Regions from separate parts of the Homo sapiens genome. Here all the other regions are linked to region 4. Evidence: promoter capture Hi-C in 16 types of primary human blood cells and fetal thymus (Javierre and others, 2016). All regions are on one chromosome and are shown on one strand. The core of a region is centred on a gene start or on the middle of the fragment in contact, and the rest is flanking DNA. Distances in the headings are between cores, read along the strand shown.

Region 1 (3,578 bases), core at 950-3,449, 360 kb before region 4:
CGTGGTGTCTCACGCCTGTAATTCCATCACTTTGGGAGGCTGGGGTGAGAGGATTACCTGAGGTCAGGAGTTTGAGACCAACCTGGCCAGTGTGATGAAACCCCATCTCTACTAAAAATACAACAACAACAACAAAAAAAAAATTAGCTGGGCATGGTTGTGCACCCCTGTAATCCCAGCTACTGAGGAGGCTGAGGCTGGAGAATCGCTTGAACCAGGGAGGCGGAGGCTGCTTTGAGTTGAGATCGTGCCACTGCACTCCAGCCTGTGCAACAGAGCAAGACTCCCTCTCAAAATAAGAAAAAAAGAAAAAAAACAAAAACAAAAATTAGCCGGGTGTGGCATCTGTAGTCCCCAGCTACTCGAGAGGTTGCAGCTGGAGGATCGCTGGAGCCGGGGAGGCAAGGGTCGCAGTGAGCCGAGATCATGCCACTGCACTCCAGCCTGGGTGACAGAGCCAGACCTTGTCTCAAAAAACAAACAAACAAAAGACACCTAAGGACAGTGTTGAGGATGGTATCCTCACCAGTCTCTGTGGGAGGATGGAATCCTAACTTCCATAAATGCCAGCTAGCAGACATCATTGACCTAAGCACATTTACATTGACTAATTCTGTAAATGTTCACTTCCCTGACTCTACTGACCCTCTGTCTCACTGTCCCCTAACCTCATTTTCCCTATAAAATACCCATTACTTGCATACAAATTGCAGTTGAGTTCAGTTCATGCTGAACTGTTTTTCCTTATTGTAGTAGTTATTACTGATTGAAATCTGTCCTTTCCACTTTAGTGTCCGGCTTTGTTTATCTTTGACAAAATTCACCAGTTTGATTCAAGACAGTTTCCAGCCCCTGCTATGGAGTTACACTGAGAAGGAAACCCCTGGAATTTAGTTTCACCCCTACACTTCCAATGGAATTTTTCTGTTTCTTTAGAGGTGGGCAAGGGCCCTTGACAATAAGGAAACTTTCAGACTTGTCTAAGGTCCCACAGAGAGTGCTTGATCCACCTGAGCTATCACACCCCACAGGGTATACACAAGTGTATTCTTTTTTTTTTTTTTTTTTTTTTTTTTTTTGTGACAGGGTCTCGCTCTGTTGCCCAGGCTGGAGTGCAGTGGCGCCACCTTGGCTCACTGCAACCTCCCTCGGGTTCAGGCGATTCTCCCACCTCACCCTCCCAAGTAGCTGGAATTACAGGCCTGGCTAATTTTTTGTTTTGTTTTGTTTTGTAGAGGTGAGGTCTCACCATGTTGCCAAGGCTGGTCTTGAATTCCTGGGTTCAAGTGATCCTCCCGTCTTGGCCTCCCAAAGTTCTGGGATTACAGGCATGAGCCACCGCACCCGGCCCTGATTCCTTTTTTTATTCTAGCTTCAAGATTCAGTTCTACCGTTATCGGCTGTGTGACTGGGTAAATCACTACACCGCAAGCCTCGGTTTCCTATTTACCAAATGGGTCGAATAATGCCTGCCACATGGGGCTGCTCTGAGGAGTACAGATGTAAGAGATCCTGTGTTCACTGATATTTTCATGTGGGCTTTTTGATAATGATACAAAAGGAACATGAGAACTGTGACTTCTAGGCCGGGCGAGGCGGCTTACTCCTGTAATCCCAGCACTTTGGGAGTCCGAGGCAGGCGGATCACCTGAGATCCGGAGTTCGAGACCAGCCTGGCCAACATGGTGAAACCCCATCTCTAGCAAAAATACAAAAAATTAGCCAGGCGTGGTGGCAGGCGCCTGTAATCCCAGCTACTCGGGAGGCTAAGGCACGAGAATCGCTTGAATCTGGGAGGCGGAGGTTGCAGTGAGCCGAGATCGCGCCACTGCATTCCAGCCTGGGGGCCAGAGCGAGACTCCGTCTCAAAAAAATAAAAAATAAAATAAAAAATTGTGACGTCTCACTCAGGATCAGCGTCTTTAAGTGGCCACCTCCCCACCCCACCTTCATGCCTCCCTCCTCCTTGAATCGTGTGTTAGAACGCTGTGATCTGGTCCAAACTCCACGGAGATGCGATGCGATGCGAAGCGATGTTGGGCAATTTCAACTCCCTGTCTCGGTCGCCACCTAGGATTACTGCATGTTCAGCTACGACCTCATCAACATGGCTGCTGGAAGTCGTCTACAGGAAAAAGAAAGAAATGACACTGAAGGATCACTTCCGCTTCCGTTGGCGCAAGCGCTTTCATTTTTTCTGCTACCGTGACTAAGATGGAAGCGTTTTTGGGGTCGCGGTCCGGACTTTGGGCGGGGGGTCCGGCCCCAGGACAGTTTTACCGCATTCCGTCCACTCCCGATTCCTTCATGGATCCGGCGTCTGCACTTTACAGAGGTCCAATCACGCGGACCCAGTAAGTTCTCGGCGCTTTCGTTTGCGTAGCGGGAGGGACCGTGGGGCCTGGTGCTGCCGGCTGGTTTTGAGAGCCCGGGAAGGTGAGGCGGGGACCCCGGGGGCGCGCGAACGGCAGGGGAGCTCAGGGCGCGGAGTCCTGGAGAATGCAGAATAATTGGAAGGAATTATAGAAAATCAGAAGCGCAGCTCAGTGCGCGGAAAGAGGGCGCAGTCCATCCCCCCTCTCAGCTCCCACCGTTCTCACTCTTTAGGAACCCCATGGTGACCGGGACCTCAGTCCTCGGCGTTAAGTTCGAGGGCGGAGTGGTGATTGCCGCAGACATGCTGGGATCCTACGGCTCCTTGGCTCGTTTCCGCAACATCTCTCGCATTATGCGAGTCAACAACAGTACCATGCTGGGTGCCTCTGGCGACTACGCTGATTTCCAGTATTTGAAGCAAGTTCTCGGCCAGATGGTGTAAGTCATCCAGAGAACAGGAGAGTGGTTCCCAAGTAGAGAGGGGAGTCCCCTGTTTTTTATTCCCTTCGATGGGATGGGGGGACTTGTTGCAGCGGGGGACTGGAAGAGTTGTTGGAGGTGGGCGATCTGTGTTTGCAATAAAGTTTTTGGCATTAGGTGTAAAATGGGGGAAGGTGTGGTAACTTCTTTTGGGGATGGGTGGAGACCCCGACTTAATTCTCTCCCTTTTCTCACAACCAATTCCTTTTAAGGATTGATGAGGAGCTTCTGGGAGATGGACACAGCTATAGTCCTAGAGCTATTCATTCATGGCTGACCAGGGCCATGTACAGCCGGCGCTCGAAGATGAACCCTTTGTGGAACACCATGGTCATCGGAGGCTATGCTGATGGAGAGAGGTTCATATGAATACAAATAACTTATTTCCTTTACCACCCAACCTAGTACCTGTGTAGTATCTCTTCTGTCTCTTCTCCCCAAGTGAATCCCACTTTAACTCAGACCCCATGGTCCCCTTCTTCAGCTAAGATGAATCTAAGGTGAAATGAGTTTTGACCCATTGTGTCCTGTTAGCTTCCTCGGTTATGTGGACATGCTTGGTGTAGCCTATGAAGCCCCTTCGCTGGCCACTGGTTATGGTGCATACTTGGCTCAGGTAAGTAGTAAGTCTAGAGGTGGGGGAAAGGGAAGACAAAAGGAAATGGATTAGTGGTTGTCTGCTTTTCTCCTGAAATTCTGATATGAGGGATGGGCTGGGATCG
Region 2 (3,698 bases), core at 77-2,576, 430 kb before region 4:
TAACCTAATTGCTGAAGGGACATAGTGGAGTTTAAGTTAATTTGGAAGGCCTATATGTGTATGGACACACACACATACACACACACACACACACACACACACACACACACACACCAGTATATGGTGAATGAATGAATGGAAGGCTTCTTAGAAATATTGTGAGTCAGGTCTTAGAATAGATATTGGATATAACCCAGCAAAATAAAAGACAAGCGAGCATTCTGAAAGCAAAAAAATTGTATGTTGAAGAATATAAATGGGAATTTGCTCATATCATGAGGAGAGGGCAAGCAGACAAGCTAGGTTAAAGCAGGAGTACAGTATGAAAGATGAACAAAGAATGGGGACAAGAGTGCCAAAGATAGTTTAAATTTGTCAGCTGGGCACAGTGGCTCACACCTGTAATCCCAGCACTTTGGGAGGCTGAGGTGGGCAGATTGCTTGAGCTCAGGGGTTTGAGACCAGCCTGGGCAACATGGTGAAACCACGTCTCTTCAAAAATACAAAAATTAGCCTAGCTGGCATGGTGGCATGCACCTGTAGTCCCAGCTACTTAGGAGGCTGAGGTAGGAGGATCACTTGAGCCTGGGAGACAGAGGCTGCAGTGAGCCAAGATCATGCCACTGCACTCCAGCCTGGACAACGGAGTGAGACCCTGTCTCAAAAAAAAAAATCGGCTTGGCGTGGTGGCTCACGCCTGTAATCCCAGCACTTTGGGAGTCCGAGGTGGGTGGATCAGTCGAGGTCAGGAGTTTGAGACCAGCCTGACCGACTTGGTGAAACCCTGTCTCTACTAAAAATACAAAAATTAGCTGGGCATGGTGGTGGGTGCCTATAATCCCAGCTACTAGGGAGGGTGAGGCAGGGAATCACTTGAACCTGAGAGGCAGAGGTTGCAGTGAGCCGAGATTGCGCCATTGCACTCCAGCCTGGGCAACAGAGCGAGACTCCATCTCAAAAAAAAAAAAAAAATTCTCACCACTGGTCTGGATTGGGGAGAATCACCAGTCCACATGTTAGGCCCACCAGCTCTTGGCCAGCTTCCAATCAGCTGTCCCGCAAATATCATGAGGCGATGACCCTGCTTTAGCCTAGAGTTTAAAATGTCATGTATCCCCTCAAGGGATAACCTTCCAAACAGCCACAAGACTAGCCTTTTGAAACATTGTAGAAAGACATGTGACAACCTTTTTTATAGTAGGAAGTTTTCTTATTTTCCAATGACAGAAAAAATTTCAGAAACATCTCTTCAAATTTGAAGCAGGAACTTTTTATAGCTAGTCAGTTATAGACCACCCTACTAAAAATACACACACACACAAACATAAGTAGAAGATTTTAAGTTTCCTATTTATAGCTCTAAGGGTTCATATGTATAAATTTCTTTCTTTCTTTTTTTTTTCTTTTTGAGACAGAGTCTCCCTCTGTCGCCCAGGCTGGAGTGCAATGGTGCAATCTTGGCTCAAGGGACCCTCCTCCACCTCCTGGATTCAAGCGATTCTTCTGCCTCAGCCTCCCGAGTAGCTGGGATTACAGGCATGCGTCACCATGCCCAGCTAATTTTTGTATTTTTAGTAGAGACGGGGTTTCACCATGTTGGCCAGGATGGTCTTGATCTCTTGAACTCGTGATCCGCCCGCCTCGGCCTCCTAAAGTGCTGGGATTACAGGCGTGAGCCACTGTGCCTGGCCCATATGTATAAATTTCTTTGCATCCCTTTATGACTGTCTTTCTGCCGTTTTCGGGAGGGTTTCTTTTTTTTTTTTTTATCATCTTCTGTTTTTTGTTTTTGTTTTTTTTGAGACAGGGTCTTGCTTTTTTGCCCAGGCTGGAGTGCAGTGGCGTGATCTCAGCTCACTGCAAACTCTGCCTCCCGAATTCAAGCGATTGTCGTGCTTCAGCCTCCCAAGTAGCTGGGATTACAGGTGCACGCCACCACGCCCAGCTAATTTTTGTATTTTTAGTAGAGATGGGGTTTCACCATGTTGCCCAGGCTGGTCTCGAACTCCCAACCTCAGGTGATCTGCCCACCTTGGCCTCCCAAAACGCTGGGATTATAGGTGTGAGCCACTGTGTCTCTACCAAAATCACAAAAATTAGCGAGACGTGGTAGTATGCACCTGTGGGAAGGCTTAGGCAGGAGAATTGCTTGAACCTGGGAGGTAGAGGTTGCAGTGAGCTGCAATCATGCCACTGCACTCCAGCCTGGGTGACAGAGTGAGACACACACACACACACACATACACACACACACACACAAAGATTGAATGCAGAAGCAGATATGAGAACCCAGTCTGACATTAAAGAAATTTCCCCCTTTAAAAACAATGCCAATTGTCTCATTGATTTTTTTTCTTGTTTCGGAAAATATAGTTATTTTTCAAAAATGATTTAGTTCATATATATATATATATATATTTTATATATATATTTTTTTCTTTTTCTTTTTTTTTTTTTTAATTGAGACAGAGTCTCACTCTGTTGTCCAGGCTGGAGTGCAGTGGTGCCATCTCAGCTCACTGCAACCTCCGCCTCCCGGGTTGGAGCCATTCTCCTGCCTTAGCTTCCTAAGTAGCTGGGATTACAGGCACCCACCACCACACCCAGCTAATTTTTGTTATTTTCGTAGAGACAGTGTTTCACCATGTTGGCCAGGCTGGTCTCAAACTCCTGACCTCAAGTGATCCACCCGTCTCGTCCTCCCAAAGTGCTGGGATTACAGGCATGAGCCACCACACCCGGCCAAAAATATTTTTTAAATAAATATTTTGACTAAGTTATGTTTTCCTCCCCCTGATTTGTCTTTTTTCTCCTCAGTCTCCTTAGTTGTCAAATTGTAAAACTGAATGCCATTCTCTCCCCCCACATTAAATGTAAAAGCATAACATTTGCGGCTGCGTACGGTGGCTCACGCCTGTAATCCCAGCACGTTGGGAGGCTGAAGTGGGTGGATCACCTGAGGTCAGGAGTTCAAGACCAGCTTGGCCAACATGGTGAAACCCTGTCTCTACTAAAAAAAAAAAAAAAAAAAAAATACAAAACAGCCAGGCCTGGTGGTGGGTGCCTGTAATCCCAGCTACTCAGGAGGCTGAGGCAGGGAGAATTATTTAAAACCAGGAGGCAGAGGTTGCAGTGAGCTGAGATTGCATCACTGCACTCCAGCCTGGGTGACGGAGTGAGACTCTGTCTCAAAAAAGAAAAAAAAAAAATAAAAAAGCTTAACATTTGTGATATGCTCTAAAATTTCTCACTTCACCGAATCTGTTTTTAAAAAATTCTTTTGATTAAAAAAAAAAAAATCACTCACCTCTATGTGAGATCCCAAGGAGCCACTATAGATGTAGATGGTTTTGCACTTGGATGATGGGTGACCCTATGGGAACCTATGCTATCCTGTGTACACACGAAGCCTCTAGCTTTGGTAGGAAAGTACGTATATGTTTTGCACATCGAGGTGTGGGGAGGGCAGGAAATTACCAACAGAGTAAGATAATGTCATTTGTTTGTCTTGTTTACAAACTGGGGAAAGAAGTTGGCTTATTCAAAAGTCAGTAAAATACAACTCCAGTTATATCTTTTTTCCTTTTTTTTTTTAAGACTGAGTCTCACTCTGTTGCCCAGGCTGGAGTGCAATGGTGCAATCTTGGCTCACTGCAACCTCTGCTTCCCAGGTTCAAGCAATTCTCCTGCCAAAGCCT
Region 3 (3,669 bases), core at 1,157-3,656, 450 kb before region 4:
GCTGTCCTAGTCCCAGCCCAGAGGATTTATCTAAACATCACCCCATTGCTGTGTCATATGTGTCCGTGTGCAAAAACAGGGGAAAGAGATGGTGTCAAACTCTCACTCAGCAGCTCTGAGGCAACACTCATGCACAGGGCTCATCCTGGGTTCTGTCCAACATGGTCTACCAGGGCAGGGAACAGAGCAGCACGTGTGCACAAATCTAGGTTGTGGGGGACGTTGAGGTCGGGGTGGGGGAGGTTAGACTTAAAAGACAAAGTCCTAAGAGCTCCCAGGGCAGGAGGGCAGTGGTGAGTTTCTACTCTGAAATCTGCTGAGTAGATTCAAGCATCCACTTGAACTCAATTCCATGGTTTCAGTTCTATTCTAGCTGGAGGTCCTATAGTCAGGTCCTTCCTTGAAGAATCTGGGGACTGGAGCACTTTGAGGGAGAAGCCACATTTGGAAACATGCCCCTAAGGCAACAACTCTTCCATTTTGGGTAGAAGGTGGTGGGAGAATTAAGGCAGTGAGGATGTCAGAGTCTATTATGAATTAGTGGTTCTATTTCTACCTATGAGCTGGTTGGAGAAGGAACAGCAGGCAAGATATTGGCTCCCTGAGCAACGCTCCAGCTGATTCTGTCACAGACAGGTCCTGTCTGACTCATTGACAGCCCTGGGGGAAGGGAGGTATATCATGACCTGCTCCTCTCCTACTCCCTGGGCTTGAGTCACTCACACTGAGTCAGCTCCGGGGAGTAAAGATGAAGCAAGAAGCTGACATCACACCATATCAAGCTAGAAGGCCTACTGGGGCTTCCAGTGTGACATGCGGCAGATTTCTCTGTACAAAGGTTGCAGTCCTGAAAAGACAAAGCTAATCTACTAACAGTGTCATCATATCGGGGAGGGTGTGATACCTAAATCACTCTCTCCTTTTAGCTCCCCCATTCTATACCAAAATATTTGCCATTTGGTTACAAATGGGAGGACAAACTGCCTGGGCAGAGTTCCCCGACTAGGCTGATAAAATGGCTTTGAAGCGGCAGGCTTTGAGGAGCAGTGGTGGAAAATGTGAAAAATCAGCACAAAGCCTTCTGACTGTGGGAGAGAGTGTAAAGGATTCCTCATAGTAAGAAAGAGAACACTGTGAGAGCTGAGCAGAGAACAACTCTGCAGGGAGACCATGGGCAGGAAGAGAACTGTACATGCTGCCCCTGAGCCTCTTCTTTGAGGCCCGACCTCATCCTTGGGAGCCCCTCTACTGGTGGTAGGAGCATAGTATTAAACTCAGAACCTAAAAGAAAAGCAAGAGACTGGGAGCAGAGTGTTAGGGTCTACCTAGAGATTCTCCTAGAGTATCTCTGCTTAGGTCTTAGATAATTATGTGCCTCATTTTAGTAAGCTGTATACTTCCTGCTTATGGCAGAAAACAACTTTTTCAAGAGAGTCACAAACTAAACAGTTCCATAGATACTGGGGTTTTCATTATTACTTCACATGTTCCTAGAGGGAAGGATAACATTTTATCCCCCGTCCTCCACAGCACAGCTCACGGCTTTGGACATTGTACAAAGTCAATAACTACATGTTGAGTGAATGAATGTTACATGAAAGGGAAGAAGGATGAGTAAAAGGAAAACCAATTCCTTTGGTATTTAGGGGACAAAAGCCTTGACAGACGCATCCTCAAAATGCCAAAGGGGCTGGGTCTAGTCACTCATGCCTGTAATCCCAGTGACTTGGGAGGCTGAGGCGAGAGGATGACTTGAAGCCAGGAGTTTGAGACTAGCTTGGGCAATAGAGCACGACCTCATCTTTACAAAAAAATTTTTTAAAAATTAGCCAGGTGTGGTGGTACATAGCTGTAGCCCCAGGTACTTGGGAGGCTAAGATGGGAGGATTGCTTGAGCCCAGGAGTTAAAGGCTACAGTGAGCTATGACTGTGCCACTGCACGCCAGCCTGGGCAACAGAGCAAGACCCTGTTGCAAGAAAAAGGGCGGACGGACAGACAGACGGGTGGGCGGAAGGAAGGAAGGAAGGAAGGAAGGAAGGACGGATGGAAGGAAAAGGGCTGGGAGAGACCCCTGTGCTGACGACTCTAATGCTTAGAAACCTAGTGATATTCATGTTTCTGTCTCTTTCTTGCTCTCCCATTTTCTGTGGAGCCATAATGAATTCAGGTATTTCATTCTGTCAGTATCAGATAACGCAGGAGTGCCTGGGAACATAGTATCTCCTTCCTCTCCTGGATCTAGTGACCCAAGATAAGGAGTCAGGTTGGAAGAACGGCAGCTACAGAACCCACCCTAAATGATGTAAGTATTCACCTAATACCTGCCTCTCAGTGCCATCCATAATCTTATCCTGGAGTGGGAGTTAGATGTAAGGAAAGAGGGACCAAGGATCAGCAGAGTAAGAAAAGCCCTGAGGCCTCAGCTTTTCTGGTCCTAAGATGAGCACTACAAAATGGATAAAGAGAAAAGCCAAGCCTGACAAGAGGCACCAAGGAATTCACTTCCAGCTGCTCACCCTCTGCTACAGGTTTGACTCCAAGATGAGACAGCTATCCAACCCTTCATGTTCCACTAGAATCTGGATGACTCTTCTTGTTCTGCAGCAACTTCTCTTCATGACCCAGGGCTCTGCTGCCAAGCTCAACCAGATATGAAAACGGTTCATTCTAGTTCTGACAACAGTTTTGGCTTTGCCTGTGCATGGATGTGGAAGCTCAGATGGCCATAGCCTGGGCCGTTCTTCCCCACATGGCTTCTGACAGCTGGGGACCTTGGGAAGTAGATATTGAGAAATAACCAAGGTAGTTCAGCTGAATGATTATGAGCACCAGCTGGAGATTTGAGTCCTGGTCTGACATTCACTAGTTGAGGGACCTTGGGCAAAACATCTAATCTTTCTAAGCCTCAGTTTCCTTGCTGGCAAAATAATACCTGTCTCTCAGCATGGTTGTGAGGATTAAATGTAAAGTACTTGGCAAGATGCCTGGCACATAAGTGCTGAATAAATGTTAGCACTTTTAGCTTTACCATTATTAAACTATCCTAACAAAATTCCAAATTTCCAGAGAGCAGGCTCTATAGTCTCCCTCCCTCTTCCTTTTCTCTAGTCACTCTGACTTCCCTCTATTTGAAAGAAGTCCCATTGTATCAAAAACGTGGGTGGGTTATATGCCCCACAGAGGCAGATGCCAAGACCATAGCTATCCGCATTTTTCAAAAAGTGCAAATTCCTCCTTTTTTTCTCCCTCTTTTCTAGGCTGGGTTGGAAGCCAGGATGGGAGCCTGGCCAATGGTGAGTCAGAGGGGAGGACTGGAGCACCATTGTCTGGCTGGGACACCAGGTCACTGACACTTGGTAGTCCACTGGGCAGCTTTCCCTGCTATCTGTCCAGATGTGGAGTGAAGAGTGGGTATAACCTATTCATGTGGCCACCTCTTCCCTGCTCTATATCCTAAGTTATACCTCCAACTGCTGCTGTAGCTTCCTCTTCTTCCCAGCCTCCAGGTCCTTGACTAGGCACTATATTTACTCTATACTAAGAGTGCTTTCTCTTCCCTTTGTGCTTCTCCCAAATGGTATGGGAAAGATACCAGCAAGGCACTCTTCCCCCTAAGGAAAGGCAGGCAATGAAGGCATTCTCCAGATGCCTCAGTGATAAGAAATAAA
Region 4 (3,557 bases), core at 582-3,081:
GGTGGGTCTCCCAAAGTGGGTCACTTCAGCCCAGGAGTTTGAAACCAGCCTGGCCAACATGGCGAAACCCTGTCTCTACCAAAAATACAACAGTTAGCCGGGCATGGTGGCGGGTGCCTGTACTGATTATCTTCTCATGTGTCCATGTTCTCTCCAACTTGTACGTAAATATCCTTGAAGGCAGAGCCCTCATCTCAGACTATTCCATGGGTTCCCTGATTCCCAGATTGGGACCTCCCTTGGTACTTTAAGGCACTTCACCCAACACATCAGGGATCTCCCAAGAGGTCTCCATACCTGTTTTGTGGGGCAGCCACAACACTTCCCCTTTCTCCCACTCTTGGGTCTGCAATCAGGAGACCTCAAGGGAATCAGGGAGACTCTCAGGGTGAGGTTGGTAAGTCTTGTGACAAATAAACACTTTTTATGTTTCTACTCACCGCCTCACCTGCCTTGGTCTGGATCTTCTCTAATTTTCCTTCTTGTCTCAGCTAGAAAAGAAAGTTAAAGATGAAAAGCAGTAAAAGAAAAATGAGCCCATGTTAAATAGCATCAAACTATTCCTATGTTGGACATTGGCTGGGCTTCTGCATTCCTGTTCTTCTAGTTCCTATTTCATTTTCAAGTTAAGTTAAATGTCAAAGGGAAGGAAGCTGCAAGAGAAAAGAAGTTTTATCTCCCCAAGTCTCTCTGTCCTTCCTTTGAGCTCACCAATTTCTCCTCTTCAAACAGCTTCTTGTTTTCAGGGGATGCATATACAGCCAGTCCCTGAGGAAGGAGTCGATTCCGGCCTAAAGATTTCTTCACTGAGACCAGGTCACCCCGGACTCCAACATCTGTCAATTAGAACAGAGACAGGGGAATTAGAACCATCTAGGAGTCCCTAAAGAAAAGATGTCAAAAAGAGAAGCACCTCTTAGTTTCTCACAGTGCTTATTTTTCCTAAAAGAAATGCTAATTCATATTCACTAGGAACAAGATTTAAGAGACTGCTAATTAGTTTCTTTAGAACTTGATGTATAAATTTAATATCCCCTGTATAGAGGGAGTTGTCGTCCCATGGAGGATTTCAGTATCTGTGGCACAAATTGTCAGGCTCCTCTCCCCACACACTGTTAATGATGTTGCTGCCTTTATGTTTTAATTTTCAATGCTGGAGGCCAGTGTCACAATCACAATAGTTTTTATGGCTTCCTCTTCTCACATATAGAGTTGGATTGTTTCCACAAAGAAAAAGCAAGGCAAATAGTTGAGGGGGACGGGCTAGAAAAAGCTGATGCCAAACCGGACCAGCCTGAGAGGAAGCGCCTCGGCCCGGGCCTTACTCTCCACCGACTGCGTCAGGATGAGCTCCAGGTTTTCTTTGGGCCGATGCTTCGTGTCCTCCACCAGCTTATAGACGCGATGTCGCCGGTGCAGGCGCGGCTTCCGGCCCTCCCCGGCCAGCGGTACCTTCCACCAGCGCTCCACGATGACCGTGCCCTGGCGGCCAGGAAAGCGACGGTAAGCTAGTCTCCACAAGGAACACCCTCTCCCTCCACCACGGCCGCCAGCCCCTCAAGGAAAGCCCGCCACCCCCACATCGGCCCCCTCCAGGTCCCAGTGCGCCTCCAGAAACAATACTCGAGCGTATCTACCCCCTACCCCAGACTCAGCCCTCACCCGATTTTGAGAAAGGCTGAAGTTGCAGGCCAGGTCAGGGGCGTTCCCTTCATGTCGCGGCCGCAGTAGCTCCTGGACGCCTCCCCGAAGCAGCCGTCCAGCGCCCGCCCGCAGCAGAGCTCTGCCCGGGGCCGTGACAACGGGCGCCGCCATGTTCACAGGCACAGAATGAGACCTGAGGGAGGACCCCGGCGTCGGCGGCAGGAAAGGCCCCCGCCAGTGCTGCCTGCGGCGCGCCGGTACGGCTGAGCGAAAGTATGGGGAGCGGGCCGGGGAACAGATGGCACCGCGGCTTGCCTATTTTTGCTTTTTGGCAGAGGTGACGGACGCCTAGAATTACTGACTGATAATGGAATGAGTGTTAGGTGGACTGACGCCGGAAAAGACGCTCTTCCTCTTGAAAGTGTGGGCTTTGCTGTAGCTCCAGTTGCTGGGCTAACTTTTAATTCTAACGTTCTGTGATGACTGGATACTGACCGGAGAATGAATGATGCTCTCACTTTTCCTTACTTCAAATCTACCTAAAAGTGGTAAAGGATGGGATCCCTTGGAAAACTCTGCCAGCTCCAGGAGGAGCCTGACCCTTAATCATTATACTGCAGTATTTAAGCTAATAAAGGAGAATTCTAAATCACAAGCTATGTAAACCGTAGAAAAAAAAGCAACTATGGTAAGGCCGCGACAGTTCCCTCTGGGGAGGGTCTCAGTACTGGACAGAAGACCATAAAAACTGGATGAAAGAAGGTCCATTTGGCAGAGATTATGGAAAGACTGGCCCTTAAACATACTGACCAGTCCTCCTTCCTCCTAAATACACTACTTGGCCTCCTGGACACCGGTCTTCTTCAGTCTCGTTTGCTGATTTCTCCTTTTCTCCCCGCTTCTTAGAATGCCCTCGGGACTCCGTTTTTGAACCTTTACTCTTCTCAGTATACACTCACTGTTGATCTCATCCAGTCTCGTGGCTTACAATACCATTTATAAGCCAATGACTCCCAAATTTCTAGTTCCATCCTAGACATCTCCCAAACTCGTCTCAAATATTCAACTGTTTATTCGTCATTTTCCTCTTACGTATCCAAAGGACACCTCAAAGTTAACTGTCCCAAACTAATTTATTTATTCCCCCCTCGCCCCCAAAACTGCCCCATCTGCAGCCTTTTTCCTCTCAGTTGACAGAAACTCCATTCTTTCCATTCTAACTCTTTTCTCTCATACTCCATCAGGAAATCCTGTGGGTTCTACCTTTAAATTACAGATAGTCCCTGACTTGGATTTACAATTTTTGAGTTTGTGATGGTGTGAAAGTGATGTGCACTCAGTAGGACATCAATAAGTTACATGAAATATTCAACACTTTATTATAAAATAGGCTTTGTGTTAGATGATTTTACCCAACTGTCGGATAAGTTGTCTGAGCATGTTTAAGATAGGCTAGGCTAAGCTATGGTGTTTGGTAGGTGTATTATATGCATTTTCAACTTATGATACTTTCAACATACGATGGGTTTATCAGGACATAACCCTATTTTAAGTCAAGGAGCACTTGTATTTCCAGAATCCAGCCACTTGTCACCACCTCCAATGCTCTACCTTGGAATAAGACACTACTTTCTCCTGGATTACTGCAATAGTCCCCTAAAAGATATCCCTTAATTCTCTACAGTTTATAATTCTATGTAGCTTATTTATAGCAGCCAGAATGATCTTTTTAAAGCATAAGTCAGATCATGTCATTCTTCCACCCAAAACTTTGTAATGACTTCCTCCTTTACTCAAGGTAAAAGAAAAAGGCCATCAGATGGTCTACAAGGCCATACATACTCTGACCCCATTAGCTCCTCTCTAATTTACACTGCTCCACCCACAGTGGCCTCCTTGTTTCTTGAAAACAC
Region 5 (3,529 bases), core at 901-3,400, 340 kb before region 4:
CTAACAGAGTGAGACCCTGTCTCAAAAAAAAAAAAAAAAAAAAAAAAAAACTACTTTCATGCCAGATCTGTCAAGGGTGCAAAAAAGGAAATTACGAAAGACTGCAAGAATAAAATTGATATATGCTAAGGAAAGGTGATTTTGGTAAGCATAAAATCTTGTCATAAGAGACTCAAAAATTAAGTCAGGGAAACCAAGAGAAAAAAGATCAATGAGGGTCTACATTGTTTCTTTTCCATAAGGAAAAACTTATCTTCCCTCTGTGTAATTTTATTATTTGTGGAACTTCGGAATAACAAAACCCACCCCCCATATTACGCGTAAAAATGAGTTAGGTGCCCAGACTGGGCAACACAGCAAGACCCTGTCTCTACCCCCAAGAAAAGGAATAAATTAGCTGGGTGTGGTGGCATATGCCTACAGTCCCAGCTACTCAGGAGGCTGAGGTGGGAGGACTGCTTGAGCCCAGGGGTTCGAGGCTGCAGTGAGCTAAGATTGCGTCACTGCACCCCAGCCTGGGTGGCAGAGCAAGACCCTGTTGTCTCAAAAAACTGGTGTTTTCACTAAGAGGTATGGATGAGTTACTCTGGCTTCACATTACTGACAGTGAAGAATCGTGAGTCCTATTCTAGACCAAGCTGGCTACCCTGGCACTACACTGCAGTGTTACCATTGATTCTTTGTTTTTTGAGACAGAGTCTTGCTCTGTTATCCAAGCTGGAGTGCAGTGGCGTGATCATGGTTCACTCTAGCCTTGACCTACTGGGCTCAAGCAATCCTCCCACCTCTACCTCCTGAGTAGCTACGACTATAGGCGTGCGCCACCACACCCAATTTTTGTATTTTTTTTGTAGAGACGGGGTTTCTCCATGCTGCCCAGGCTGGTCTTGAACTCCTAAGCTCAATCTGCCTGCCTCGGCCTCTCAAAGTGCTGAGATTACAGGTGTGAACCACTGCACCTGGCCCGGTTGATTCTAATATACATTCTACTCCCAAATGATTAGTCCAAAGTTTCACTGTCTAATATGGTGGCACCAGCAACATGTATCTAGTGAACACTTAAAATGTGGTAAGCTCAAACCCAATTTAGATTTGTATTTCAAAAGATCTGTTTTTTAATGGAGGAAAAAAGAATGACGAATATCTCATTAATTTTAAATTTTGAGTTCATGTTGAAATATTTTTAATATACTGAATAAAATATGCTGTTAAAATTAATTTTGCCTGTTTTTTTAAACTTTACAGTAGACGCCCTTTGCCAATGGGAAATATACGTTCCAAGACCCCCAGTGCATACATGAAACCTCAGATAGTATTGAACCCTATACATACCGTGTTTTTTCATATATATATATATATATACCTATGATAAAGTTTAATTTATAAATTAGGCAAAGAGATTAACAATTAAAAATATATAATATATAAAAGGATAATTATAACAATATACTGTAATAAAAGTTATGTGAATGTGGTGTCTCTCTCAATAATCTTATTGTACTGCACTCACCTAGTTTTGGACTGTGATTGAGACTAAAATTGAGGATAAGGGAGCGCTACTGTATTTAAAGTGAAAAAAATTAAAATTACTCATGAAGCTTGCATATTTCTACTGCCTAGTGTTACTGTAAGCCATTAATGTCAATCCCACTTCCCTTGCCAATAAATGGTCAGAGATATAAAAGGAAAGCAATTCTCACTCATAAGAAAACAGATTCAAGAAAGAAAAATTGAGGATAAGGGAGCGCTACTGTATTTAAAGTGAAAAAAATTAAAATTACTCATGAAGCTTGCGTATTTCTACTGCCTAGTGTTACTGTAAGCCATTAATGTCAATCCCACTTCCCTTGCCAATAAATGGTCAAAGAGATATAAAAGGAAAGCAATTCTCACTCATAAGAAAACAGATTCAAGAAAGAAAGATGGGAAGATAAGATCTCTTCTTTGTCTAACAATTTTTTATCTGGACATAGTGCCTGACACTTATACAGCCACCCTGCTATGAGCCAGAGACAAGAGAATTGTTGAAAACCAGCAGGGCAGTCAAATTCTAGGCTGAAGCATCCATTTCTGTATCTCTCAGTTAAATGATATAACAGATATTCTTATTGTTTTCTTTTGTTTTGAGACAGAGACTCGCTCTGTCATCCAGGCTGGAGTGCAGTGGTGCGATCTCAGCTCACTGCAACCTCTACCTCCTGGGATCAAGTGATTCTCATGCCTTGGCTTCCTGAGTAGTTGGGATTACCTGCGCACACCACCACAGCCAGCGAATTTTTGTATTTTTAGTAGAGATGTGGTTTTGCCATGTTGGCCAGACTGGTCTCCCCTGGCCTCAACTGATCCACCCACCTAAGCCTCCCAAAGTGCTGGGATTACAGGTGTGAGCCACCACACCCAGTCCTTATTGTTTAATTCATTTTTAGTTAAGGATTTTTACTTGTAGCAAATGCATCCAGATAATATGCATATGTCTTCTATGCTTTTGATCATGCTGTTTTCAATCACCTAAAAGCTTTTCTTACTACTCTCCATCCATCTAAACCTTTCTTAAATTTAAGCACGACTTTCTTGGAAACCTAGCCACAAGGATTTTTTCCCTTCTCTGAAGTATTTCACCTATCAATGATATCTTAAAATGTCTATGTTTATAATATACTATCTTGTTCTCACATTTTCCTATATTTACATAATTTTTGTCTTTACAACAAAACTGGAAATCCCGTAAAGGACATGAGAAGTATTCTCAATACTGGGCTTAAATCCTCACTATGTATCCCCAGTAGAGGTGTATTTAGAGGTGTACGCTCATAAGCAAATGACTCAATTTCTTTGAGCTTATGTTCAGCCTACATCTATCTATAAAATGTACAGTGTAGAAAAACATTCCAGCTTACCTTATATTTCACTGAAAGCACTGTCTTAATGATAAAGTACTTCATAATATTATCTTTTTTTTTTTGGAGATGGAGTTTTGCTCTTGTTGCCCAGACTGGAGTGCAATGGCATGATCTCAGCTCACTGCAACCTCCGCCTCCCGGGTTCAAGCGATTCTCCTGTCTCAGCCTCCCGAGTAGCTGGGATTACAGGTGCCCGCCACCACACCCAGCTAATTTTTGCATTTTTAGTAGAGATGGGGCTTCGCCATGTTGGCCGGGCTGGTCTCGAATTCCTGACTTCAGGTGATCTGCCTGCTTCGGCCTCCCAAAGTGTTGGGATTACAGGCGTGAGCCACCGTGCCCGGCCATATTATCTTTTATCCTACTTAATTTCTTTGAGCTTATGTCCAGCCTACATGTATAAAATATACAGTGTAGAAAACACTCCAGCTCATCTTATATTTCATTGAAAGCAATGTCTTAATGATAAAGTACTTCACAATATTATCTTTTAGCCTACATAAAACCTATCAGGGTTTAACTAAAGTGGAAGAGCAAATAGATGACTGTTCCTTCTATAAAGAGACCTAAGAAATAAATTAATTACATTTGTTTTTCTACAGTGGTTCTGAATCAACGCCCCTAACAAT
Region 6 (3,617 bases), core at 1,116-3,615, 410 kb before region 4:
GGCTGAGGTGGGCGGATCACCTAAGGTTGGGAGTTCGAGACCAGCTTGACCAACATGAAGAAACCCCGTCTCTACTAAAAATACAAGATTAGCCGGGCGTGGTGGCGCATGCCTGTAATCCCAGCTACTCGGGAGGCTGAGGCAGGAGAATCACTTGAACTGGGGAGGCGGAGGATTGTGCCATTACACTACAGCCTGGCAACAAGAGCGAAACTCCGTCTCAAACAAAAACAAACAAAAATTTATTTGGTGTTTATTAGGTATCAGACACCATACCAAATGCTAAACACCTCGTGTAATGCTCACAGCAACTCTCTGAAGTAGGTACTGTTACTGTCTCCATTTTACAGATGAGGAAACCAATGTGGAGAGGTGAAGGGACTTGTCCTTAGTCATATATGTAGAAAGTGCTAGAATCAGGATCCAAAGGCAGGCAGTCTGCCTCAAAGCTGATTGTTTTGAGCACTGCCTTAGACTGCATGTATACATATTTGCAGATACTCATAAATAAATATGGGTATAACGGGCTGGACATGATGGCTCATGCCTATAATCTCAATACTTTGGGAGGCAAAGGCAAGAGGATTGCTTGGGGCCAGGAGTTTGAGACCAGCCTGGGCAACAAAGTGAGACTCTGTCTCTCTCTAAACACACACACACACACACACACACACACACACACACACACACACACACACCACACACAGCCAGGTGTGGTGGTACATGCCTGTGGTTCCAGCAACTTGGGAGGCTGAAGCAGGAGGATCACTATTACCCATGAGTTCGAGGCTGCAGTGAGCTATGATTGCACCACTCTGTCGTGCAGCCTGGGTGACAGAGTAAGACCCTGTCTCAAAACAAACAAACAAACAAAAAACAAAAAAAAAGCCGGCTGGTGTGGTGGCTCATGCCTATAATCCCAGCACTTTGGGAGGCTGAGGTGGGCAGATCACCTGAGGTCAGTTTGAGACCAGCCTGACCAACATGGAGAAACCCCGTCTCTACTAAAAACAAAAAACAAAAAACAAAACAAAAAACAAAACAAAATTAGCCAGTCGTGGTGGTGCATGCCTGTAATCCCAGCTACTTGGCAGGCTGAGGCAGGAGAATTGCTTGAACCTGGGAGGCGGAGGTTGGGTGAGCCGAGATCATGCCATTGCACTCCAGCCTGGGCAACAAGAGCGAAACTCCATCTCTAAATAAATAAATAAATAAATAGCAAGCCAAATATGGATATAGACTGATGGAAAGATAGCCCTAACACCACTGTTTGGTATGAAGGAGAACCTAGAGCACTTTGGTTGCAAACAGAGTTTTGGGTAAGTTATCTAGCTTAAAAATTTGCAGATAACAGGGAAAAACTGGAAGCTTTAGTAAGGGGGGAGAAAGTATCATAGTACATAGTACCTAGTAAAAGAGATGATTTTGACAGCACTATAGAAGGTAGAGTTGAGTGAAAGAAAAGGCTAGAGATAGGAAAGAGGAAACTATTAATTTATGCCAGGCATTGTGTTAAGAGCTAGGGATACAAAGCTGAATAAGGTATGGTCCTTGCCTTGGGCAGTAACAATAAAAATTGTCCGGATAAGCATCATATAACAGCAAGTATTTATACAGAGCCTAATATGTGTTGGGGCCCGTTCTTTTTTTTTTCGAGACGGATTCTTGCTCTGTCACCCAGGCTGGAGAGCAGTGGCGCAATCTCGGCTCACTGCAAGCTCTGCCTCCCAGGTTCAAGTGATTCTCCTGCCTCAGCCTCACAAGTAGCTGGGACTACAGGCGCCTGCCACCACACCGGGCTAATTTTTTTGTATTTTTAATAGAAACGGGGTTTCACCATGTTAGCCAGGATGGTCTCTATCTCCTGACCTCGTGATCCGCCCGCCTCAGCCTCCCAAAGTGCTGGGATTACAGGCGTGAGCTACCGCGTGCGGCCTCAGATAGATACTATGATTATCCCCATTTTACAGGTGAGGAGACAGGCATTGAAAGGTTAATAATTTGCCCAAGATTACATCATAATTTAGTAAGCTATGGAGCCAGGATCTGCACCTAGGCTCTTTGCGTTGCAGCTTTTTTTTTTTTTCCTTTTTAGACAGAGTCTCACTCTGTCATCCAGGCTGTAGTGCAGTGGCTCCACTGCACTTGGCTCACTGCAACCTCTGCCTCCCAGGTTCAAGTGATTTTCCTACCTCAGCCTCCTGAGTAGCTGGGATTACAGGCGTGTGCCACCACACCTGGCTAATTTTTGTATTTTTAGTAGAAATGGGGTCTCACCATTTTGGCCAAGCTAGTCTTGAGCTCCTGACCTCAAATGATCCACCCACCTTGGCTTCCAAAAGTGCTGGGATTATAGGCGTGAGCCACCATGCCTGGCCTGTTGCAGCTTTTTCACTCTTGCTGTTTGGAGAGTGGGAGGGAGTGTTCCAGCATTTTCACTTCAACTGCTGGTGGACTCTGTATTCTTGTCCCACGACCAAGAAGAATAAGGTGTGTAGACACTGGAGAGTGAGTAAGGCAGTCAGATTTATTTATTTATTTACTTATTTATTTTATTATTTTTTTTGAGATGGGGGAGTCTCACTCTGTCACCTGAACTGGAGTGCAGTGGCATGATCTTGGCTCACTGCAACCTCCGCCTCCCGGGTTCAAGCGATTCTCTTGCCTCAGCCTCCCAAGTAGCTAGAACTGTAGGTGCCTGCTACCACACCCAGCCAATATTTTGCTTTTTGTTTTTTTTTTGGCGGGGGGGCGATGGAGTTTCACTCTGTTACCAAGCTGGAGTGCAGTGGCACAATCTTGGCTCACTGCAACCTCCACCTCCTGGGTACAAACAATTCTCCTGCCTCAGCCTCCCAGGTAGCTGAGATTACAGGCGCCTGCCACCATGCCCAGCTAATTTTTGTATTTTTAGTAGAGATGGTGTTTCACCATGTTGTCCAGGACGGTCTCAATCTCTTGACCTCATGATCTGCCCGTCTTGGCCTCTCAAAGTGCTGGGATTACAGGTGTGAGCCACCGAACCTGGCTAATTTTTTGTATTTTTAGTACAGACGGGGTTTCACCATGTTGGCCAGGCTGGTCTCAAACTCCTGACCAGCCAGAGTCAGATTTATTAAGCAACAGAAAAGCTCTCAGCAAAGAGGGGGCCTGAAAGAGGATTGCCAGCTATGAGGCTGAGTGGGAGGGTGAGGAGGGTGGCTTATGGACTGGGAAAGGGAGGAGTGTGCTGATCGGGCCTGCAGGCTATCTTGCAGAAAGCACCACTCAGAAAGAGGTATGATAGTGTAAAGAACCAGTTGGAGGCAGAAGTGAAGGCTTGGCTCAACAACTTGGCCTGGAACCAAGTCAGGGGCTGAAGTGAAAGCTTGGGCCAGGACCTTGGCCTGGAACCAATCAGGGGCTGAAGTGATGATTCACCCTATGTAAATGAAGACTCCCGCTGTGGCCAATCACAGAAAGGTAAGCATATGTAAAATAGATGAAAACTAAGAGACTAAGGTGTGCCAAAGAGAGTGAAATATGTCCAAAAAGGGAGTGGTATTTGTTCATCTGGGTTCCTAGAGTAGGTATTTCCATTCCAGGATGCGGGCTGTCACTTATCTGGGGCCTGCAGT
Region 7 (3,597 bases), core at 50-2,549, 390 kb before region 4:
CTGACTAAAAAAAAAAAAAAATAATGAATTACTGTGTAAATATGGGAAGGGCTGTGCCAGAGGAGAGGAGAATGCCAGGGAGTGCTCGATGCCCAGCGAGAGGGCTGGAGGTGGGGCAGGGAGAGAGAGAGAGGTCCAGTTCACAGGAGTTAAGGAGACTGGTTCTGTTACACAATCTTGCTAAGTCGGGGCTTGGCACCAGATGACAGGGGGTGGGGAAGGAGGTTGCTGGATACAGAAGGGAAAGGAGATTTTAAAACTCCAAGACCTCAAGACAGAGATACAAAAAATACAAAGCTAGGGAGAAGCTGAGAGGGAAGTAAAAGTGCAGAGATGGAGCTGCCCGCTCTGCAGCCTCGGCCCACCCCACACCCCAGCAACCCCAGCCCCAGCATTTCTTAGGGTCAGGCCTGGCATGCCACTGCAGCCCCAGGGAGCATCATTCCTCTTTCTGGGGAATACCCCCATCTGAAACATCTCAAGCAAGGTCTCGGAGCAGCTTTGGGTTTGGGATGGACTCATGGAAAGCTCAAGTGGGTTTTCCATGTCAGGCTGGCTGCTGGGCATTCTGCCAGCTCGGCATTCTGCCAGCTCAAGAGCCAGCCCCGAGCGGGGAAGGACCTCCCAACCAAACCTCAGTTCCTTCTTAGCCTGTCACCCAGAAGCCTACAGATGGAGGAATAGCAGGGCCAAGGGGGATTTAGGGGTGGGGGAGGCATTGAAACAGGTCCCCAGTGAAAGAGTGTGGGGGTCTCTGATTTCCCTCCCAGAGAGCTTTGCTGTGTGGAGTAGCTAGAGAGTGACCTGGGCACAGAAAGGCTTTGGACTCCCTACCTCGCTGGAGTACAAAGTTGGCCCATGGCTGAAATCAGGATCACCTCTCTACTATGTGAGGGCCAGGGACCTAGTGGTGTTTTCTAAGAGCGCCCATCTGATTTTCCCAGCTGCAGAAAGGCACCCTGGTCCCAGCCTCTGCTGGATGGAGCCAAGTCAGGGCCCAGGATCCCATCTCCCAGCAGTGCCTCTGCCCGTCTTCCTCAGAAAGTTTGGCTGAGCTGGGAAATGCAGTGGGGTGGTGGGGGAGGGGGTGTGCAGACTGGGGACAATGAAGCAGAGTCCACTACTCCCTCCCCAGCTCCCCACTCAGGTTTTCTAGCATTTTCTGGAGGAGGGCCTTCCAAATTAGGGGCAGACAGAGCAGGCAATGGGTGATTGGAAACCCCTCTCCTTACCCATGCTGCCGACTGGTACACTTTGATCCCGGCGGGTTTGCTGTGCTGGTGTCAGAGGCCGCTGTTCCGGGGAAGGAGCGAAGGGAGGGAATTTATACAACCAGCTGGGGGTGGGGCAGAGAAGGAGGAGGGCCCGGGCTGTAGCCCAGAGTAAACTACTCAGGGCAGCTGGCCAGGATACTCTCAAGTGGCCTAGGGCAACTGGTGTTTGAATTATGGGGTGTGCGTGTATGTGTTTAAGTGTGTATGTGTGGGAGCCTGTGCTTTATTTATTTATTTATTTATTTAGAGACAGGGTCTCACTCTTGCCCAGGCTGGAGTGCAGTGGTGCGATCTCGGCTCACTGCAACCTCTGCCTCCTGGGTTCAAGTGATTCTCCTGCCTCATCCTCCCGAGTAGCTGGGATTACAGGCACCCACCACCATGCCCAGCAATTTTGTATTTTTAGTAGAGAAGGGATTTCACCATGTTGGCCAGGCTGGTCTCAAACTCCTGACCTCAGGTGATCCACCCGTGTCGGCCTCCCAAAGTGCTGGGATCACAGGTGTGAGCCGCTGCCCCTGACCAGCTCGTGCTCTTTAGTGGGTGCCTGGGTGTGTGTGGATTTGTGTGTCTGGGCATGTGTGTGTTCCTGTATACCTGCGTGTTGCTCGTGCACGTGCCTGCATGAGTGTGTATCTGTGCCTGTGTGTGAATTTCCACGTGTGTGAATGTGCCTGTGAGTGTGCTTGTGTGTATTTGTGCGTGTGTGTGTGTGCGCGCCTCTGTATGTGCCTACCAGAGTATCTACGCCTGTGTGTGTGTGTGTGTGTGTGTGCGCGCCTCTGTGAGTATGTGCTTGCTAGAGTATCTACGCCTGTGTGGACATGTGCATAAGTGCTTGTGTATGTGTAGTGTGTGGCTATGTGGCTGTGCATGTGCTTGTGTAAGCCTGCGCACGTATGTGTTCCTGTGTCTCCAAATGCTCGTCTTTGTATTTGGACCTGTCTCTTAGCATTTAGGGGCACCCGGGACTGTGGGCCCATCAGCCAGGGTCACTTCTTCCCTAAGATTGCCCTCTTATTCCAGATATTCATACTCTTTGGATAAAAGCTCTGGGGTGAAGTTTTTATTGGCTAGGAAAAAGAATAAAGTCTGGGCTTGAGATTGCAAGTAGAATACAGGGTTTCCAAACCAGAGTGGGGGAAGGGGAGCAAAATTGGGCCTTGGTGCATTGGGTATCTGTCTTCCTGGCTCCCATCAGTGAGGGATCATGTGCCCATCAAGGAAGACTCCCTGTGGCTGCCCGGGGCAAGGGTCTTCTCTTATCCCCAGCGCCACTCAACCCCTCTTGGCTCCATCCTGCATCTATTATCCTCACCATTGTGCCATCAGCCTGCCAGGCATCAAAGAGAGTCTTGTGTGTGCAGCTGCCCCACGGGGAAGGCCCTGAAGGCTGCTTCCTTGTCTTTGCCAGCTTCCTCCTGTCCTGACTACCTCCACTCACCCTGCCTTCACCCTTCCCTCTGGCCCTCCCCTCTTCCTCCTCCTGAGGTCTCCATCTCCTGCCTCCTCTCTATTCTCCGGCTTCTTGGCTTGGGTTAGTCCACCACCCAAGATCTGAAAGAGAAAGAAACTTTATCCCCACCTTCTCATAAAAAATTATTGAGTCATTAACTTAAAAAAAAAAAGGCTGTTATTTTGTTTGTTGTGGTCTGTCATTGACTACCTCTTTCATGCTCCTGAGCTCTGACCTGGCTGGTCTCTGCAGCAACTCCATGGCACCCCTCACCTCTGCCTGTGGTTTTCTCCCTGAACTCTTGCTCTACAGCCAGCAGGTGGTTGGGGAAGTTATCCTAATCTGGGCTACAGAGGGAGGCAGTAAAGGTAGAGGGGCGATTCTCCTGCCTCAGCCTCCCGAGTAGCTGGGACTACAGGTGCCCACAACCATACCTGGCTCATTTTTGTATTTTTAGTAGAGACGGGGTTTCACCATGTTGGACAGGCTGGTCTCGAACTCCTGACCTCAAGTGATCCACCCACCTCCGCCTCCCAAAGTGCTGGGATTACAGGCCTGAGACACCGTGCCTGGCTGACCTGGATAATTTTTAAATTTTTTTTGTAGAGATGGGGGGTCTCACTATGTTGCCCAGACTGGTCTCAGACTCTTGGGCTCAAGTGATCTGCCTTGGTCTCCCAAAGTTAATTTTGGATTTTTAAAAAAATAATAAGTACTGCTTTTGTAACTAAAAGCTCAAATAAATATATTAAAAGAAAAACTATAAGGAAGATGAAAGGAAGGATGGAAGGTCACATGCAGTGCAGGTGAGGGCCACAGTGAGGGCCCATGCTGGGGAGAAGGACTGGCCCCGGTCCCTTTTGAGCT

The links. Contacts are between HindIII fragments. The CHiCAGO score rates a contact against its expected background, and 5 or more counts as called.
Region 1: a contact is called between the fragment with the promoter of PSMB4 here and the fragment with the promoter of MRPL9 in region 4, in 3 of 17 cell types (M1 macrophages, M2 macrophages and megakaryocytes). The highest score is 8.8, in M1 macrophages.
Region 2: a fragment that was not itself captured here is called in contact with the fragment with the promoter of MRPL9 in region 4 in 1 of 17 cell types (erythroblasts); the score reaches 5.1 in erythroblasts.
Region 3: a fragment that was not itself captured here is called in contact with the fragment with the promoter of MRPL9 in region 4 in 1 of 17 cell types (erythroblasts); the score reaches 5.1 in erythroblasts.
Region 5: a fragment that was not itself captured here is called in contact with the fragment with the promoter of MRPL9 in region 4 in 6 of 17 cell types (endothelial precursors, M2 macrophages, megakaryocytes and 3 more); the score reaches 7.2 in endothelial precursors.
Region 6: a fragment that was not itself captured here is called in contact with the fragment with the promoter of MRPL9 in region 4 in 6 of 17 cell types (endothelial precursors, M1 macrophages, M2 macrophages and 3 more); the score reaches 7.9 in endothelial precursors.
Region 7: a contact is called between the fragment with the promoter of SELENBP1 here and the fragment with the promoter of MRPL9 in region 4, in 1 of 17 cell types (M2 macrophages). The highest score is 5.2, in M2 macrophages.

The regions. Positions count from the first base shown.
Region 1 is chr1:151,397,374-151,400,951 of GRCh38, forward strand. It overlaps PSMB4 (proteasome 20S subunit beta 4), which reads left to right and starts at 2,200. Exons shown (of 7, transcript NM_002796.3): 1 at 2,200-2,354; 2 at 2,608-2,814; 3 at 3,069-3,215; 4 at 3,391-3,472. The coding sequence starts at 2,215. RefSeq lists enhancers at 1,557-2,279, 1,880-1,929, 2,280-3,001 and a silencer at 2,770-2,927. The HindIII fragment of the contact is 7,561 bases long and covers 1-3,578 here.
Region 2 is chr1:151,329,080-151,332,777 of GRCh38, forward strand. No RefSeq gene overlaps it. Among named protein-coding and RNA genes, the nearest start is that of PI4KB, 3.5 kb to the left of the region's middle. The HindIII fragment of the contact is 3,778 bases long and covers 1-3,215 here.
Region 3 is chr1:151,311,044-151,314,712 of GRCh38, forward strand. The region is part of intron 2 of PI4KB (phosphatidylinositol 4-kinase beta); the gene reads right to left. Among named protein-coding and RNA genes, the nearest start is that of PI4KB, 15 kb to the right of the region's middle. RefSeq lists an enhancer at 510-804. The HindIII fragment of the contact is 5,699 bases long and covers 1-3,669 here.
Region 4 is chr1:151,761,665-151,765,221 of GRCh38, forward strand. MRPL9 (mitochondrial ribosomal protein L9) reads right to left here and starts at 1,832. Exons shown (of 7, transcript NM_031420.4): 1 at 1,663-1,832; 2 at 1,326-1,482; 3 at 712-836; 4 at 441-491. The coding sequence starts at 1,815. It also overlaps a transcript of OAZ3 not described here. RefSeq lists an enhancer at 1,603-1,982. The HindIII fragment of the contact is 8,401 bases long and covers 1-3,557 here.
Region 5 is chr1:151,419,646-151,423,174 of GRCh38, forward strand. All of the region lies in intron 10 of POGZ (pogo transposable element derived with ZNF domain), which reads right to left. Among named protein-coding and RNA genes, the nearest start is that of PSMB4, 22 kb to the left of the region's middle. The HindIII fragment of the contact is 726 bases long and covers 1,788-2,513 here.
Region 6 is chr1:151,348,851-151,352,467 of GRCh38, forward strand. No RefSeq gene overlaps it. Among named protein-coding and RNA genes, the nearest start is that of RFX5, 3.4 kb to the left of the region's middle. RefSeq lists a silencer at 2,350-2,550. The HindIII fragment of the contact is 1,999 bases long and covers 1,367-3,365 here.
Region 7 is chr1:151,371,406-151,375,002 of GRCh38, forward strand. SELENBP1 (selenium binding protein 1) reads right to left here and starts at 1,300. Exons shown (of 12, transcript NM_003944.4): 1 at 1,233-1,300. The coding sequence starts at 1,236. RefSeq lists enhancers at 654-1,237, 1,238-1,821. The HindIII fragment of the contact is 17,083 bases long and covers 1-3,597 here.